5 separate regions of the Homo sapiens genome follow, and regions 2, 3, 4 and 5 are each linked to region 1. Evidence: promoter capture Hi-C in 16 types of primary human blood cells and fetal thymus (Javierre and others, 2016). All regions are on one chromosome and are shown on one strand. Each heading gives the region's core, a stretch centred on a gene start or on the middle of the fragment in contact. The rest is flanking DNA. Distances are from core to core; before and after follow the strand shown.

Evidence for each region. Contacts are between HindIII fragments. The CHiCAGO score rates a contact against its expected background, and 5 or more counts as called.
Region 2: a fragment that was not itself captured here is called in contact with the fragment with the promoter of PRKCH-AS2 in region 1 in 6 of 17 cell types (activated CD4 T cells, total B cells, total CD4 T cells and 3 more); the score reaches 9.7 in activated CD4 T cells.
Region 3: a contact is called between a fragment that was not itself captured here and the fragment with the promoter of PRKCH-AS2 in region 1, in 6 of 17 cell types (total CD8 T cells, naive CD8 T cells, non-activated CD4 T cells and 3 more). The highest score is 8.2, in total CD8 T cells.
Region 4: a fragment that was not itself captured here is called in contact with the fragment with the promoter of PRKCH-AS2 in region 1 in 9 of 17 cell types (neutrophils, activated CD4 T cells, total CD8 T cells and 6 more); the score reaches 13.0 in neutrophils.
Region 5: a contact is called between a fragment that was not itself captured here and the fragment with the promoter of PRKCH-AS2 in region 1, in 12 of 17 cell types (neutrophils, activated CD4 T cells, naive CD8 T cells and 9 more). The highest score is 21.3, in neutrophils.

The regions. Positions count from the first base shown.
Region 1 is chr14:61,543,362-61,547,190 of GRCh38, reverse strand. It overlaps PRKCH-AS2 (PRKCH antisense RNA 2), which reads left to right and starts at 1,707. Exons shown (of 3, transcript NR_188139.1): 1 at 1,707-2,097. The region is part of intron 12 of PRKCH (protein kinase C eta); the gene reads right to left. The HindIII fragment of the contact is 1,799 bases long and covers 1,380-3,178 here.
Region 2 is chr14:61,858,222-61,862,050 of GRCh38, reverse strand. All of the region lies in intron 1 of SYT16 (synaptotagmin 16), which reads right to left. Among named protein-coding and RNA genes, the nearest start is that of SYT16, 47 kb to the right of the region's middle. The HindIII fragment of the contact is 1,080 bases long and covers 1,507-2,586 here.
Region 3 is chr14:61,263,544-61,267,372 of GRCh38, reverse strand. It overlaps a transcript of PRKCH not described here. Among named protein-coding and RNA genes, the nearest start is that of TMEM30B, 16 kb to the left of the region's middle. The HindIII fragment of the contact is 1,809 bases long and covers 1,264-3,072 here.
Region 4 is chr14:61,816,883-61,820,711 of GRCh38, reverse strand. The region is part of intron 1 of SYT16 (synaptotagmin 16); the gene reads right to left. Among named protein-coding and RNA genes, the nearest start is that of SYT16, 6.1 kb to the right of the region's middle. The HindIII fragment of the contact is 731 bases long and covers 1,631-2,361 here.
Region 5 is chr14:61,799,853-61,803,681 of GRCh38, reverse strand. No RefSeq gene overlaps it. Among named protein-coding and RNA genes, the nearest start is that of SYT16, 11 kb to the left of the region's middle. The HindIII fragment of the contact is 1,819 bases long and covers 788-2,606 here.

The sequences.
Region 1 (3,829 bases), core at 458-2,957:
TGGCCACTTTTCTTTATGCAGCGAAGATATCATAGCTCTAGATGAAAGGCTTTTCTTCAAGATGTTCCCCCCACCACTGCTGTTTCGAAGTAGGTTCAATGACTGAGATTCCATTGCTCCATAGACCAAAAACTAAAACGAGCGCTGCCACACAGCTAAGCGATGTGTGCATAGAGATTCTCTGTATTTCCATCAGTTGGGAAACTTCCTTAGTGCTGGGCTCCTATCAAAATATGCTGGGCTAAATCTGCTTTCACAAAATAGCCAGGAAAGGTGTTTTGATCACTTCCTGAGCAAGGATTAGTACAGGATAATTCACTTTTCATGGCCGGAGTGTGGTTCTCAATTTCAAAGACACTGAAGCTAATTTAATTTCCCATATTGAAAGAAAATTGCCTTGGATAAAAAGTTTTGTTTTTGTTTTTATTTAAATCAGGTTATCTTTAAATAGACTCATGACAGTCCCCAAGCACCTCTTTCCAAATCTGATTTGTGAACAACACAAAAGTAATGCTGTGTTTATAAAAATTGTTTTGGAGCTGAATTTACAGAGAAAATCTTGTTGAAGGTGCAGACACGGAAAGACAGTGTTTGGAGGTACCTCCCACTGCCATGCCAGGTGTCCAGAGGTGTCAAGCTGCCAGTGTTGATTCAAATGAAAATGATAATGTTGAAGAAGGAGGCTGCAAAAGTTCCTAAGCAACCTGACGGGATATACCTTGTAAAATGCTTTCAAAAAAGCTTCAAAGGGCAGCTAATAAATGAATATACTGACAGGGTTTAATCGCTTCTCCTCTCTCCTAGTAACAGGAATTAAAGGCCACAGGTGGTTCTGGGTTGGAGGCAGGACCCAAAAGTAAATGCAGCATTCAGAGCTGCACAGGCCCAGTCAGAGCAGCTGCCACTTCAGGCACTTACAGTGGTCACCCAGGATTCAGGAGATGCATATTATAAGTAACTCAGTTCTGTAAGAGCTAGGAGTTAGTTCACACTGCTTGGGCTCTCACTAAGTAAGCCTGTGCAATGCAGGCAGGAAGGGAGAAAATGCTTACAAAAAAGAAATGAGTAGATTCTTGCCTTAGGAAAGTCAACGGGATACAATTCCTGATGGAAGAGCAGTTGCTATTCTAAGAGCTAATTAACAAGAAACAATGCTGCAAAAAACTTGGGAGACAGGACGGCAGAACACACCCAGATGGCCTGTGGGAAATTCCCAGGCCTGCCAATGATGTGAGAGAGGACATCTTGTGAATGGGTGGGTACAGCCTGTTCTTCTGGGCAAGACAAACAGTGCAGGACTCTATATGCCAGGGTGGCTGAAGCCCCAGTGTCCAAGAGGCTTGCCCATTCCTCCCTGCCCCTGGCACTGAACCCAAGCTTCCATGGGGCACTGTGGAAGAGGCCTTGCCTGACGACAAGTAGACCAAACACGACCGTCCGTCCTCTAAAAACTGCACCCTTGGAATTGGGGACAGGCAGAATAACCCTTTCACTAGCTTGATACTTAGCCTCTTGGGGTTCTGATAAATCCTTTTGAATAACCAAGCAGTTTTGTTTTTAATACCTTGGCCTGAGCCCTTTAGATGCAGCCATCCTCAACTTACAAAAAAAACAAACCAAAAGAAAAAACAAAACACACACACACACAAACAAACTTTGATTCAATTGACAAAGGTTTTCAAGGTGTCTACTACATGTAAGGCAGCACACTAGGGGTTTCTTGGGGATACGCAGATGACAAAGACAGTGTCTCTTCATCCAGGAGCTAATCAAGAGAAGGGGGAAGAATCAAGCAAACTTCATAATACACAGCCGGATGAAATGAAAAGAGACTTAGATCAAGTGCTGTGAGAGCTTGGAAGAGGCACGGGGCAAATAACACTGGGGCTGGTGGTGGGAAGGCAAGTGACAGCCTCGTGGAAGAGGTGGCATTTGACCAGAGATGAGGACGAACAGAATTAACATAGTAGGCATGAAGGAAGAAAATGCGCCTGAGGACACAGCCAGCACAAATGCAGAGGCATACAAGTGCCTGGTACAGCTGGCATGCAGGGATGGCTGAGGAACTGCGGGGGCAGCCGGTGGGATCCATCCGAGGTGAGTGATGAGAGCTGCACGGCAATTTAGGGGATGACACTAGCCACAGCGTGATGAATAAATCTTAAATGCAGAGGTAGCGCCTGGTGGTGAGCAGTTAGAGGCTGAGACAATAGCTGAGAACACATGACAAGTTCAGCAACTAGGAGAGTTTCTAGTTAATTGGAAGGAAGAGTTGGAAGCACATTCTAGAGGGCCGTGGAAGAATAAACACAATCCACTAACTGCCGGGAATGGGAGTGAAGAGTCCAAGATCACAGGGTCCTCCCTGGCTGCCTGATGGGGCAGTGGTGTTGAGTAACAGAAATGGAACAAAAGAGGGGCAAGAGATTATTCTTTGTAGCATGAGTATTAGTAGCAGTGTTAGTAGTAGTAGTATTTTTGTTAGTGGAACAAAGACAAAAATAGCTCACACTTACTGAGATCCTACAGTCTGCCAAATCTGGGAGGCTGATGGGCTCCGCTTTGCATTGGAGGTGTGTGGGCACCCACATGCAGATGAATTCTAGGGTAAATCTGGGGTGCAGGCCAGGGCTGGCCATCTAACGCTCAGAGACATTGAAATTTGAGTAACCACTGAAGCTGGGAGGGCAGGTTAGATTGTGGAAAGTGACAGAGACAGACTAGAACTGATACCAGCCCTAGGTCTCAGACACATTTTATTTGGCCTACCTAGTGTGTTTTGAAATAATTTTAATTACTTCTCAAATATTTAAACGCTAGGAAATGTCACATCACATGAAAAGTCAGGTTTTCCAACTTCTCGTGGAAAATGAGATACTCGGGAACACTGGGCCTGCACTCCTCTCATAGAAACGGCCTGGAGTTGAGCAGGGGCTTCTGCTTTTCATGGGGCACCAGATGCCCAGTCAGTCACATGCCCCACCACTCCCTATCACCTCCCACCTGGCTGGTATCACTCACGGACTTTCATGGCTCCTGACCCCTGGTGTAGGGTGAGAAGCAGCCAGAGTGGCAGCTGGAGGATGCCATGAAGAGGCCAGAGGAGGATGAATACCATGAAACAGAAACCAGGACCGGGAGAAGGAGGGTCCGGGGTGATACTAAGGGGGTAGAAGCTTTGTGTGTTGTGGTGGTGGTGGGGTGGCCCTTCTACCACTACCCCCGTCCAGTGATGTGGAGATGAGGAGTTAAGGGAACATTTAACATTAGTCCCAGGCCTGAAATCTTTCACAGTTCACGTTGGTGCAGATGGTGTGGAGTTGGAGGTGGATAGCTTGCCATCCTAGGCTGGGCACAGGCCTTTCCCTAAACTCTCTGTTCCTACTGCTGTGAATGGTGACAGCATAATCCTTTTGCAGAAAACTTTCATTATTTGCTTATGTCCCTAATGGGACCCAAATGCCAGTAAGTTAACAATTGTGCTCCTCGGGGCCATCACTTTCATCCACATTTAAGGTCACACTGAAAAGTTGCCTCACCTCAGCTGACTTTCTCCCTGACTGTGATCCAAGAGGGAAAGTCGGCCAAAGAGGAAAATAATGTGACTTCATGAAATATTCTGCACACATTTACTAAAGGAAGCAGAATGTTTTCTAGGGCCAAGAAAAGCACTTTATAAGCTGCACAGAGTGAGTGAGGGGACCAGGGTGGAAAATCTGGATTCTACCCCAAGTGTAAGTCTCAAACTGACTGGAGAGCAGGGGAAAGAGAAGGGTCAAGAACTCAGGGACTCATTTTATGTTCCCCTTCCTGCTGTGGCCCTCATTAC
Region 2 (3,829 bases), core at 797-3,296, 310 kb before region 1:
TTTGCAGATATTGTGTGTGTTTTTTTTACAAATTGAAAGTTTGTAGCAACCCTACATCAAGCAAGTCTGTCAGCACTATTTTTCCAAAGTATGTGCTCACTTTGTGACTCTGTGCCAGTATTTTTTTAGCAATAAAGTATATTTCATTAAGGTAGGTATTTTTTTGGATATGATGCTATTGTATACTTAATAAACTATAGCATGGTGTAAACGTAACTTTTATATGCACTAGGAAACCAAAACATTTGTGTGACTCACTTTATTGAGATACTTGCTTTATTGCAATAGGCTGGAACTGAATCCCCAGTATCTCTAAAATATGCCTATGTAAGAATTCTATCAAACAGGCTGGGCATGGTGGCCCATACCTGTAATCCCAGCACGTTGGGAGGCCAATGTGGGCAGATTGCTTGAGCCCAGGAATTCGAGACCAGCCTGGGCAACATGCCAAAACCCCCTTTCTACAAAAAATATAAAAATAAGCCAGGCATGGTGGCACGTGCCTGTGGTCCCAGCTACGTGGGGGGCTGAAGCAAGAGCCTGAGCCCAAGAGATCAAGGCTGTAGTGAGTCATGTTTGCACTGCACTCCAGCCTGGGCAACAGAGGGAGACCCTGTCTCGAAAACAAAAAGGAGATTATCCGAAAGAAAGTAAAAGGCATCTGTGATTCAACCATCCAGATACTACCACAGTTAAGACTTCTGTGCATTAAAATGTTTATATTTTTACCAAAAAAAATTAGTAAATTTTGCCACTTAATTTTGCAAATTGGTAAGCTTTTTTCACTTAAGATATCCTGAACATTTCTGTGCCCATAAAGAAATAGAATGACAACATGAGCTCTAATGGCTACAAAATAGTCCACTGGATATATACAAAATAATTAATTCAGATTCCCTCCCAGTTGGTGAGCAGTATTGTGATGAATCTCATTATCAGAAATCCCACTCTCTGATCACCACCTTCCATACTTCTAGTTCACTCCTTGCTGGTCCTACATTCCAACTCCAGCCAACTTGATTCTTCCTGGTCCTAGATTCCATCCATCCTACCACTTTCGTCACTGCCTCTCACCCTCCTCCGATTGCTTTCTTCTTCCCCCAGCTTAAAATGCCATGGTCAGTCTCCGTACACCTCACTTGAATACTTCCTCAACACTTGCATCTTCCCACTGCATTAGGCCCACTTAGCAAAACCACACCCTGGTAAAATCCAACACTGCCTGTATCAACATAGCTAAACAAGGCTGGAGAAAAACACTCTTGAATCGAATGGCCTCACATGAAATTCATGGCCTCAAGCCTCAGGTGGATCCTCAATGTAGTGCAGCAATCTTTCTACTTTTCCCTACTCCATTTTCTCCCATTCTCTTGGCCCAGTGCCTCTTAAACTATCTGCTGTGAGGACTAGATGTTTTTATTTCCAATCTATTATAGACCAATACTTTTTAAAAATACAATAAAAATGTTACAGCAATGTCAAGTGCTATAACAGTTTCTAAAAGCTTGCTCTCACTTTCTGTACTCATCTCCTGGCAAGTCAGTAACCAAGGGCTCCCCAACTGGCCACTTTGTGCACTGCAGTCCTAGATGACAAATCTCAAATTGCCAGCACCTCCCCACCTTATTCACTCTGAGTTGATCATCTTGCTTCCTCTTTCACTAAAAAGGAATGAAAGACAATCAGTTCTTACTGATATGCAAATGATGTTTACAAAGGTTATTACTACACTCCTATAATTGCTTCTGTGCTGCTTTGCAAAAAATGAAAACTAAAAATAAATCACACCCAAACAAATACAGGCTAGAATGGTTTGTTGTTGTTGTTGTTGTTGTTTGGAAAGAAGCAGTTCTTTCAAAGTAGCTTTGTTACTTGTACCAAACTGTAAACATAAAACCTTTGTGCAACCTAGAGTGACTTTTTCCAAAGATTGTTACCTATTTCAAGGTGGAACCATTAAAACGTACTGAACCACAGTGGAAAAGACAACTATTGAGCCTAATTGAGGAGAAGGGTACTGTTTATTTCTGTGGCAACTGTATGTGGGTATATGGACAAGGTCTGTCATCTATTTAGGGACTTGTTTTATATGTCCCCGACCTTATCCACATCTTTTTGTTTTCTTTTGAATGTACTTTTCCAAACAAAGAATTATAAAATTATTTCAACCTTAGAACCTTAAGATGCCTTCAAATGGATTTATGTTAGTCTTTAGGGAGTCAATGTGTTGCTGCTTATTATAATATAGTTCGCTTGGAGCCCCAAGTGTGCCAATGTCCTCCCCACACTTCCCAGATGCCTTCATCTTCCTGTGAGCACTTGAGCTAGGAATCTCAGGTGACTTAATTTGGTTTTCCAGTGCTGAGGAGGCTACATTGTCTGGGGTATATATCCAGGGGCTCACCATTTGGCATTGGAAAATTTAGGACACAGACACAAGGAGTTTGTGTCTGTGTCCTAAACCTTTAGGAGTAAAGGTTTAATAGGCAGAAGAAGAGAAACAGCTCTCTCTGTCGAGAGAGAGAGGGGTTTTCCGAGCGGAAAAGATGGGCTGGCTGTGGATGTGCCGGATTGTATAGTAAAGCTTGAGGAGGTGGTGTCTGATTTAGGTAGGTAGGGCTCACAGATTGGTTTAATCAAATGTGAAGTTTACATAGCACGCCCAAATCCGGTCACCCCACCCTAATCTTATTATGCTAATGAACTCTCCGTGTCTGGCCGCCATCTTGTCGCTCTTTACTGTACACATGGCTGGCACCTAAAGGAAGATGGAGCCAACATGTCTAGTCCCTAGTTCCCGCCAGCATTCACTAGCGCAAGCTCCCAGGTTGGCTGTCTACGTCTGCAGCTCGACTTTACAGGCTGCTCTTTGTTAGAAAATGATTTGGGGCTGGCCGGGCGCGGTGGCTCACGCCTGTAATCCCAACACTTTGGGAGGCCGAGGCGGGCGAATCATGAGGTCAGGAGATCAAGACCATCCTGGCTAACATGGTGAAACCCCGTCTCTACTAAAAATACAAAAAAAAAAATTAGCCGGGCGTAGTGGTGGGCGCCTGTAGTCCCAGCTACTCGGGAGGCTGAGGCAGGAGAATGGCGTGAACCCAGGAGGCGGAGGTTGCAGTGAGCCGAGATCGCACAGCCGCACTCCAGCCTGGGCAACAGAGTGAGACTCCGTCTCAAAAAAAAAAAAAGAAAAGAAAAGAAAAGAAAAAAGAAAATGATTTGGGGCTGCTTTTCATTAAAAAGCCTTACCGAGGACTCCCATAACCTTACTATCTGCCTAAGTGATTTCTTCTTAACCCCTGTATCAGTGCCTACTCTATTGAAAAACTAGTTTTTCATTCTTGAGAAGAAACTTATGGAAGGACACGTTTCCTATCACAAGTTCACGTACTAATTTTTTTGTTTAATTTCCTTGGTGCGACTTATGCCAAGTAATTATGAAGATTTTTTTTCCTGGGTATTTCATGAAGCCTAGGAAGTTGGAACAGGCAAATCCTGGGTGTGAAAGCTTTATTTTATCTACCTCATTTATTTTTTATTTGTTGTAGTCATAGTCTCTGCTTTCCTATTTTAAGACCACTGAAGTATTCCCAGGCCCTGTCTTAAACTTAAGAGTTGATGTATTGGTGGGAAGAACTGAATGTTCAAGATGATCTTTTTATTCCATTTTTTTATAATCTCCTTTTGTACATGTAATAACATTGAGCATATGAATTATTGTTCCTCTAATGGCTTAACGGGAAAGGAGAAAGAAAGATCCTAACTTCTGGGTGGAAAAGTCTTTCCCCTGTATGCGGAAGGCCCTGATTGAAATGTGGACCTAAGA
Region 3 (3,829 bases), core at 919-3,418, 280 kb after region 1:
TTTCTCAGTCCCTGAGGTCTCCTTGAACCGGGAAGCTTTGCTAGATAGGCATACATCAAGGCTCCGAGCATTACATCTCGCTGTACTCTCTCAATCTGAATTGTATGTGAGTATGCGAAGTTGATGACCACATATAAATCATAGTTATTTCTGTTGACAGGAAATAAAGTTAGACTATCAGACATACTCAGAGCCAATATCTGCTTTCATGTTTTTCAAAGTTATAGGGAAAAGATGTCTTCCATTATTGTGAACGTATTGTCAGAGTGAAGACTGAGCCAGTTCTATAGCCTCCAGGTCCTTTTCTCCGCCAAGAATGGAAAACATGCTGTGATAAAACGTTGCCAAAGGAGAGTTCCAAATAAAAGCCTCCCAGTCTATTTAGACTTGGCGTGGTTGAAGACTCCCTTCAACCCCACCCTCTACCATCCCACCCAAGGAATGAAGTTTTTGCTTTTCCTTCAAAAACTGTGTTTCTTGTTTCCCATCACCCATCCCCATCACCTCATCTCCCTCCCTAGGCGCCGTTTCAGCAAAGCTCGGGGAATCAGAATTTTTTTTAGCATACACAGATTCTTATATCAGTTTTAGGGCCTCTATTAGCATAAAATATACACAAATAAGTGCATTAGCAGCATATAGATGAACCAGGCATATAAAGCCATTTCTAGTTACATATTCTCGTGAGACAATTCCTCTCCTGGTCCTTCGTAAAACAAGTTTCCATCTGTCTTTGCTCAAGATCCATGTTTCAGTGCTGAGTCAAGCCACTGATTCGGAGGCTCATGAATGATTTTCCTATGTTTCCCTGCAATGCATTTTACTTTTTATGCACTCCCAGAAGTTCCTTGCTTTTAAAAATGGTCTTATTATGCAGCTTCAGGGGCTATTTATCACTACATACTTTCTGGACCTATAATTTTTATTTATGTATTTATTTATTTATTTATTTTTGGAGATGGAGTCTCGCTCTGTTGCCCAGGCTGGAGTTCAGTGGCACAATCTCAGCTCACTGCAACCTCTGCCTCCCAGGTTCAAGTGATTCTCCTACCTCAGCCTCCCGAGTAGCTGGAATTACAGGTGCATGCCATCACACCCAGCTAATTTTTGTATTTTTAGTAGAGTCGGGGTTTCACCATGCCTGCCAGGCTAGTGTCGAACCCCTGACCTCAAGTGATCCACCCACCTCAGCCTCCCAAAGTGCTGAGATTACAGGCATGAGCCACCATGTCCAGCCAAGGACCTATGATTTTTCTAAAAGCTTCAGTAGTCTTTAAAACTCTTTCTCCCTCTTAAAGAATCCCTTTTCACATTCTTGGGGGTGATCTCAGCTCACTGCAACTTCTGCCTCCCAGGTTCAAGTGATTCTCCTGCCTTAGCCTCCCGAGTAGCTAGGATTACAGGCGCATGCCACCACGCTTGGCTAATTTTTTTATTTTTAGTAGAGATGGGGTTTTGCTATGTTGGCCAGACTGGTCTCGAACTCCTCACCTCTAGTGATCCTCCTACCTCATCCTTCCAGAGTGCTGGGATTGCAGGTATGAGCCACTGCACCCAGCTGGGGGCTCTTATTTGGAGCTCTCCCTAGATCTTATTCTCCTAGCCCAGTCTCACCCTAAGCAAACATTAGCACTGTACACTAATGTAGCAATATTGCAGTTTTATGTTTTCAAGCCCAGACTAAAATGACTCTAAATTCAAAGATGATTTGGTGTAGGGCTTATGAAAGGTGCTCTTAGTGGCAGAGGGGTGACAGAGAGAAGCACTGGCTTGGGAGGTGGTGATCCTGGGTGATGGTCCATTTTCTGCCAATACCTAAGTATGTGACCTGGAAAAGTTATTTAATGTTCTGTGTCTCCTCTGTAAAGTGAGGGTTTTTGTTTTTGTTTTTTGAGACAAGGTTATGCTCTGTCACGCAGGCTGGAGTGCAACGGCACGATCTTGGCTCACTGCAGCTTCCGCATCCCAGGCTCAAGCTATCCTCCCACCACAGCCTCCCAAGTAACTGGGACTACAGCTGCTCACCTCCATGCCCTGCTAATTTTTGTATTTTTTGTAGAGACAGGGTTTCAGTATGTTGCCCAAGCTGGTCTTGAACTCCTGGGTTCCAGCAATCCACCCACCTTGGCTTCCCAAAGTGCTGGGATTACAGACATGAGCCACCGCACCCGCCTGGGATGGTTTCTTGAGGAGAAATGCAATTGTCAAAATTGCAAGGGTTCATAACAGAGGATAACCCTGTTATTTTCCACTGAGAATTTGAAAAAGGTTATGTTGAGGATTGTTTTGGATTTGGTTCCTTCCAATGTCAACTTCTAACCTTTAAAAAAAATTGTAATGACATGCTTATGCTAGTCCTCAACACGTGGTAGGGAAGGAACACTGGGTGGCTCTAGTGATCTTAAACATCTTCCTACTTCAATCCCAGCCCAACACACCATTCCCCATCCCTCCTTACTCTCCTCACTAACAGCACGGACTCTTCTAAAAAACAAACTCAAACTGCGTCATGGACCACAGTAGCCAAAATCTAAGGAATTCAAGCCTCTCTGTTTCACTGCCAAGCACTATCCCAAAAAGGTCACTGATCTTTGAAATCAGCGAGCCCTGAAGCCCACTGAAGGGGGTCAAAAGAGTTAAAAGATTCCAGATGGGGCCAGAGTAGCCTCTCCAATTTCTTCTGCCTGTGTTGCTCATTCAGGGTGACCTGTACAGGTCACTAAATCTCTATGTGCTTTCAACTCCCCATTTATAAAATTTGGCTAATATTGATTTGTAAGATATTTAGAGAGAGTTGAATTAGGATTACTACAAAGAGCAAATTCCCTAGCTGATTTTTGTGTTACTACTAGTGAAGGCCCTAGGCACAATTCAACAATCAAAAAGCAGCAGTGAATGAGAAATTGCTGAAAGTGGCCAAATCAGGCTTTCTTAGATCTGGAGCTCTGCTGCCCAATTAAATCTGCACACTCACATTGGACAACATCTAGTTTATAAAGGCAAATATTTAATTAGTGGAACCTTAGGACTGGCAATGCTACTTCCAACCCATGTAACAAGATACCCTAAGCTTGAAAAGCAAACCCTGTAAACTTAAACTACTGTAAAATTATAAAGTTTAACATAAAAATGGAAAATCTTTAAATAGCCGTTTTGTGCAATGTTCTTAACAGACAAGACTGCCACACAATGAAACTGTGTAACTGCTAGCAGCAGGCACTCCAGGAAGATAAAATAAACTGGCTTTATGGACCCGAGGAATTGATTTTTAATGAGATTCTGCTTGGCTATAATGGCATCCTGAGAGGGCGATCCAGTTTCCACGGCCTCTGGTATACAGTTATAAGGTGCAGAGCAAGGACTCAGTTAAACAATGCCCATGTATTTGCCCTTTTGGCATATGAGATTAAATAAAATAAGGATGTTGTTCTTAGACACTTTCCAGAAACTGCACATGCACGTGCGTACACACACATACACACACACACACACACACACACACACACACACACACACACACACACAATACTCTGACTTCAGATGCTTTTCCTTAGACATTACCTGCTCGTATATTCTAAATTTTAGAGGACTTGACCCTTGAAGTTATGGGCTTGTGTTTGTATTTCTCTATCGGGGTATAACAACCCATAAATTATTAGATGAACTTGGCTGATTATTTTGTATTCCACTACCTGGAGACATTTATGCTTATATATAAATATGTACAGCAATGGATATGGATACAAATAGGTATAGATAGAGATATGGCTATAGATAATTGGCAATAGAATTGAGAAGGCAGTGTAGTATATTGGTTAAGAGATTCAGC
Region 4 (3,829 bases), core at 747-3,246, 270 kb before region 1:
TCAGGAGTTCATGACCAGCCTGGCCAACAGGCTGAAACCCTGTCTCTTCTAAAAATACAAAAGTTAGCTGGGCATGGTGGCAGGCACTTGTAATCCCAGCTACTCAGGAGGCTGAGGCAGGAGAATCGCTTGAACCCAGGAGGCGGAGGTTGCAGTGAGCCGAGATCGTGCCACTGCACTCCAACCTGGGCGACAGAGCGAGACTACGTCTCAAAAAAAAAAAAAAAAAAAAAAAAAAAAAACTCTGAAGAGGTGCCCTGAAGCATATCCGCCCAGTGCTATAGCCATCCATCAGTCATTCCTGAGAGGGGTAGGCCACGAAGCCCAGAGAGATCGCCAAATGCACATCAGCGGAGAAGTGCTCAAAACCCTCTTGCCTCTTAAATCAAAGAGGTAGCTGTTGTAGCCCTTTTCACAGCCCATCAGTGAATTCTCCCAAGGTTTCTACAAGTTGTGTGTGTGCACATTTCACAAATCCACATGCTCATGGTACAAGTACACTTGCACAAAACAATAAACATTGGGGAAGAAAACATGATTATTACTTCTATTTAAAATCTGAGTTCTGCACCTTTGGGTGCTTGTCCTAGATTCTCTTCCCTAGTCTTACATTTGTACACAGATCATTTGTTCTTAATTTTATATTCCTCACACACAAAAAATGGAATCAATGACTAGGCACCCTGTTTCTGAGTCAGATTGTTCTCATAATATGAGGTACACCCTATGGGGAGGTACACGCCATTGGAAGGATCTTGTAGCAGGTAAAGGGACAGACATTTATTAATGCATATGTTGTGCCAGCAACTCTGTTCCATCTCTTTTACTCCTTGTAATTCCTCAGAGTGGAATAAGACAAAGCCTCCGGGAAGTTAAACAATTTACCTCTTACCCAGCCTTTGAGTGGCAGGACCAGAGTTCACGACTCAGGCACCTCTGGAACCAGGCCTGTGCTCTCTTCCACCATACCACACTCAGTTCTTCAATCTTTTGCAATTTCTATTGAGCTAAGCCAATTGAAAACCTCCTTGTAATTGGTAGGTTATCTGTATGGTGCTCTTTTGAATTAAGTATATAAACCAGGGGCATTTTCATGCAGGGTGGGTAAAATCATTTTATGTCTCTTAATCTTTGCTCCATTGTGAGTAAAATTATAGAATGTGACTTATTATATTCCTAAAATTAGACGCCAGAAGAATATTATATTCTCACAATAAGAAAATTTTATTCTAAAGGGGTAATATCCATCCATAAATGTAAACTACCTAAAATCAGATATGTATAATCCTTAATGGAAGGATGACAGCTGTGCATAAAATTTTTTTTGTAATATGCACTTCAGATACCTCTCCAATCTACTAGAAAGCACTGTCAGTGAGTTTGATTATCATCTTAATATACAGACAATTGTTAAATGGCATAATAGCCATCTTATCATTCATAATGCTAAATAATAGTTAATGACTAAATAATACCCTAGTGATCTAAAAGGACAAATGTCATCCAAATCTACTATACTCAGGAGAAGGGAAGGTTTATTCCTCCCAAGATGTCTGTCCCATTTCTTTTATAAAACATATAGACCAAATTTTAGATTCATTTAGAAACTCAGGTTGGTCAAGAAAAAGCTTTACTGGGTTTACCAATTCAAAGATGCCATGGTGAAATGAAAACATAGGAATTCTATTCAAACAGTATGAAATTATTTATGCTGATTTACTCTTAGAATGTTTCAATAAGATAACATCAACTGGGTAAATCAGTTGAGAATATTGCCACCATAACCATATTTATGTTTTCTTCTAGAATTTAATTCTTGGTTTAAAAACAGGAGGAGCAGTTTAGCAAACAAAACAAGAACAAGCAGGTTCACAGACCTTTTCTTCTACACTGTTTATAATTACCCAGGCTTAGTCAGCTTTTCAAACTTAAAACAAGTGCACAGCCCATATATGTCAAATCAGTACATTCCTCAGAACTCTGCTATTCTATAACATTAATAATATCTAAATGCTGTTTTTTTTTTTTTTTTTTGAGACAGAGTCTCACTGTGTCTCCCAGGCTGGAGTGCGGTGAAGCAATCTCGGCTCACTGCAACCTCCGCCTCCCAGGTTCAAGCGATTCTCCTGCCTCAGCCTCCCAAGTAGCTGGGATTACAGATGAGTGCCACCACGCCCTGCTAATTTTTGTAATTTTAGTAGAGATGGGGTTTCACCATGTTGATCAGGCTGGTCTCAAACTCCTGACCTCATGATCCACCCGCCTCGGCCTCCCAAAGTGCTGGGATTACAGGCGTGAGCCACCGCGCCTGGCTGCTGTCATCTATTATTGCAGAATTGCTACTGAAGTCTGATAAAAGCTTGGGGATTATGAGGAGGGAAGTATGCACAGAGGGGCAGTGAAGCATCATGATGTCTTGGATTTGCCTTCAAAATGCCTCTCCCAGAAAAGTGGGGGTGGAGGTGGAGATGGATGCAACAAGCCTGGTGAAATACCAACGCTCATTAAAGCTATGTGACCTGGATACATGGGGGTTCACTATACTATTCTCTCTTCTTGTGTATATGAAATTTTCCCTAATAAAAAGTTTTGTTAACATTATCACTTCACAACAGAATTAGGAGTCCAACGTTATTTATTTCAAAAAGTAAACTCAATAGTATTAGACCATAAAGCCTAGAATACAGATTAATAGCTCAGTGCTTTCATTTATAAACTCCCTCCCCCAAATTCGCAGAAAAGCTGCAAGAACAGCACAAGGAACTCCTAAATTTACCAAATGCTAACCTTCGGCCACCTTTGCTTTCTCTCTCATATGATACACATATACATATAAATGCACACATACATGCATATATCCTTTTTTCCTAAAGCCTTTGACATTTAGGTACAGATATCATGTCCCATGTCAACCACAATAAAAATATCAAATTTAAGAAATTTAACACTGATACAATGCTATTATCCAATATACAAGCCATATTCAAATCTCACCAATTATCACAACACTGTCCTTTGTCGCATTTTTTCCCTCATCTAGGATATAACCTGAAATCATCCATTGCATTTAGTGGTCTCTTTAGTCTTCTTCAATCTGAACAGTGCCTCAGCCATCTTTCATGACACTGACTTACAGAATGTCTCTTGATTTGCCTTTGTCTGATGTTTCCTCGTGATCAGAACCAGGTTATACATTTGTGGCACAGTAAGTGGCATTGTGTCCTTCCCGGTGCTTCCTATCAGGAAGTACAGGATATCAGTTTGTCCCATTATTCTTTTTTTTTTTTTTTTTGGAGATGGAGTTTTGCTCTTGTTGCCCAGGCTGCAGTGCAATGGCGTGATCTCAGCTCACTGCAACCTCTACCTTCTGGGTTCAAGAGATTCTCCTGCCTCCGCCTCCCAAGTAGCTGGGATTACAGGCGCCTGTCACCACACCCGGCTAATTTTTTGTATTTTTAGTAGAGACAGGATTTCACCATGTTGGCCAGGCTGGTCGCAAACTCCTGACCTCAGGCGATCCACCCGCCTCGGCCTCCCAAAGTGCTCGGATTACAGGCATGAGCCACCGCAACTAGCCCCATTATTGTTAATGTTAACTTTGATTATTTGGTTAAGTTCGTATACTCCAGGTTTTCCCCCCATTTTCCAATTAATAAATAATCTTTGGGGAAAATGCTTTTTTTGTGTGTGTGTGTGTGTGTGTGACGGAGCCTCACTCTGTCGCCCAGGCTGGAGTGCAGTGGCAGGATCTCGGCTCACTGCAAGCTCCACCTTCCGGGTTCACGCCATTCTCCTGCCTCAGCCTCCCGAGTAGATGGGACTACAAGCG
Region 5 (3,829 bases), core at 448-2,947, 260 kb before region 1:
AATATAAGGGATTTTTTTAAGTGGTAACAAGACAAACTATATCTTGTGACTGGCTGGTTCATCTTTATTTACAAATAAACAGGATGATTTTCCAAACATACACTCTCTAAATAAAGGACAGTGTATTCAGTTTTTAAATACGAAACAAAAAGTTTCTGCTGGGAAAATTTTATGAGCAACTTGTTGAAATTTACAGAGAGAATACATTCAGTTAACCACCTACAGTAAAATGACATGTTAGCAAGAGAAGCAATATACCAATTATGCTGCAAGAAACTAAGAGATAAATCAACTATTTAAAACATGTAATAAAGGCAGAAGAGTTAACCATTTGTGAGACTTTAGCAAAATTCATTTCATTTAAAATCAGACACACCATAAGAAGTTCAGGTCCAACAAATCTTGTGGGTGTTGCCTTCCCTAAAAGTGATCAACTAGCTAGGCAGAATGGCTGGCACCTGTAGGCCCAGCTATTTGGGAGGCTAAGACAAGAGGATCTCTTGAGCCCAGGAGTTCGAGACCAGCCTGGTGGATATTATGAGGTCTCATTGCAAATAAATAAATAAATAAATGTTGTCAACTGAAGCTAACATAGCCCATTTAATTGTTACGGTGTTGAAGTATTTAAAAATTAGCCTGCAGGTAAAGTAATTACATGAAGGTTTTCTTTTTTATTTGTCTTAAGTAAGGTTTTTTAAAACCTCATATTAAAGTGCCTGCAAGAAAAAAATAGTGCATATAAAAATATTTTCCTCAGAGCATAATCTGTAATTAGCCTGATCAAGCTTTGTAGCTTGCAACCAAGAGCAAATTAATAACATAATTGATTCTATAGTGCTTAGCATTTACGGAAGATTAGCCTCCTTGAAAAATCAGGGATTTTTACCCTATTTTCAGAAGTGCGTCAATTTATTTCAAGCCATTAGGTTAACAAGACACTAAATTATGATCAAATAGCATTTGGGTGACTTAAATGAGTTAAGTCATACTCCCAATCTAATTGGAATCTTCGTAAATTAGGAGACACCCTGCACAAATCCAGGGAAGATGGTTCAGTAACTTCAGGGTAAATAGGGGGATGTCACCTAATGATTACTTTCCGTGATAGCAACTGTAAGGGATTCAATGCTGTAAAGGAGATATGCATGTTTATACAACTTTACCTGAGTGCACTCCCCTGTCCATGGCACTGGGCAGGTAGGACTCAGGCAGAATGTCATAGTCTTACCTATCTGAGGAGTCAGAGAATGGAGTTTGGGCTGTCAGAGTGGTTAGAAGTCAAGATGGGAAATCCCTAAAAGGAGCAATCATAGAAACTCCAAAATCTGTGTATAAAATCCCCTCAGATCTTTGGCTGCAAGCAAGGCAAAAACCCCCATGATTCTAGGGCAAAGAGCTAGAAATCTGAAAGTCCCGAGTGGGTATTTCAGCAGCTGACCACCCAAAGGTCTCCTGAGTTCAAAGTTCAAGTCTTGCAAGAATAGAGTGATGTGGCAAACACTTCACGGTTTCCATTAAACTTCAAAAAGCCCACACCTTAGATTTAGGGACCACTTCCAGGACTAAGGGATTTGCCCTAAAACTAAGGATCAAGCTGAATAGATCCACCCTGACAAAGCCTACAATCAAGCCCCTTTAAGTATAAGATGCTCTGTCATAACTTAACTGCCTTATAGAACAAAACTCAACACTCTTTAGAGGAAGGTGATAGAATTCAGAGTCCCTAACATGTATTATCATACAATAAAATATTAGTAGACAGGGAAAGAAACATGAAAATGTAAACCACAGTCAATAAAAAAATAAATCGGTCAATAAAAACAGATATACTCTTTGGGGGAAACAGACATACTGATGCCCCCAATGTTGAAACTAGCAAACACTTCAAGGTAGCTAAATTTGCTAAACTTATAGCACCTACAGTATAAATTTATAGTATCTATAAAATAGTATAAACCTACAGCAAAAAATGTTATAATTGGTGAAGAAATGGGACATTTCAGTGCAGATATGAAAACCATGAAGAAGAACCAAGGAGAAATGTTAGAACTGAAAAATACTACATCTAAAATTAAAGTTATTGAATGGGATTAACAGCAGATTGAATACAAAAGAAGAAATAATTCATGAACTTGAAGACAAGTCAAATCATTCAATCTGAAGCACGGAGAGAAAAATTACTGGGGGTGTGGGAGGAAGCCACAATAACATTTGGGACAGTATTAAGCAGTTAACAGACATGTAATTGGAGTCCTAGAAAGAGAAGCAAGTGAGACCAGTACAGAAAAACATATACAATATACTGGAAAAATTAACTGCACTAGGCACATCATGCAAATGGCTGAAAATAAAGTAAAAAAAAAAAAAAAAAAAAACTTAAAAGTGGCCAGAGAAAAAGGGCGTGTTATATACCAAAAAATGGGTAAGAATGAAAACTTCTCATCAGAAACAATGAAGGCTGAAGACATGCAACAATCCTTAACGTGATGAAAGAAAAGAGGTGTCTACCTAGAATTCAAATCCAGGAAAAATATCCTTCAAAAATGGTTAAATAAAGACTCAGAAAAACAAAATCTGATAGAATTGATCTCCAACAGAACTAAGCTTCAATAAATTAAAAGAATGTCTCCAGGCTGAGGGAAAATTGTCCCAGGTGAAAGCATAGATTTGCATGAAGGAATGAAGAGCAGTGGATAAGGTTCCCATGTGGGTAAATGTAACAGCTTTTTCTCCTATTTTTTCCTTTATTTAAAGTAAGAATATAACTGTATGATGGGGTTTATATCATAGCAGTAAAATATGATGACAATATCTCAAAGGATGGAAGAGGATAAAATGGGATATATCCATCCCTAACTTACAGGTAGATTTTATTACGTCTCATATGCAGATTGTAATCTCAGAGCAAATCCACGCTGTCTGATACTCTTCCACTGTGCAATGCTGCATCAACTGAACTTTTTTTTTTCTTTTCTCTTTTTTTTTTTGAGATAAAGTCTCACTCTGTCCCCCAGGCTGGAGTGCAGTGGTGCAATCTTGGCTCACTGCAGCCTCCACCTCCTGGTTCAAGTGATTCTCCCACTTCAGCCTCCCAAGTAGCTGGGACTACATGCACGTGCCATCACACACGGCTAATTTTTGTGTTTTTAGTACAGATAGGGTTTCACCATGTTGGCCAGGCTGGTCTTGAACTCCGGACCTCAGGTGATCCACCTGCCTCAGACTCCCAAAGTGCTGGGATTACAGGCATTAGCCACCATGTCCAGCCAAGTGAACATTTTTGCCATTACTTGTTTACATTATGAAGTTAAAATATTTACGACTGTGTTTGCCATCATTATCATTTCCATCAAATCCATGAATAGAATGACAAATCCATGAAATGTTACAGGCTTGCCCTACTCACAACCCCTTCTGCAGAAAGCTGACAGAGTTGGGTCCTTCCCCATAATTTGCCCTGTCCTGAGGTATACGACCCTTCTATACTGTCCACAATTGATTGTATCAGGGATCTATGTCCTAGTTAAGGGGCATCATCCTTTCAGTTGGACATAAGGGAGGCCAGGCCGGGTGTGGTGGCTCACACCTGTAATCCCAGCACTTTGGGAGGCCAAGGCAGGCGGATCACTTGAGGTCAGGAGTTCAAGACCAGCCTGGCTAACATGGTGAAACCCCATCTCTACTAAAAATACAAAAATTAGCCAGGTGTGGTGGTGCGCATCTGTAATCCTAGCTATTCAGGAGGTTGAGGCAGGAGAATTGCTTGAGCACAGGAGGTGGAGGTTGCAGTGAGCCGAGATGGCACCACTGCACTCCAGCCTGGGCCACA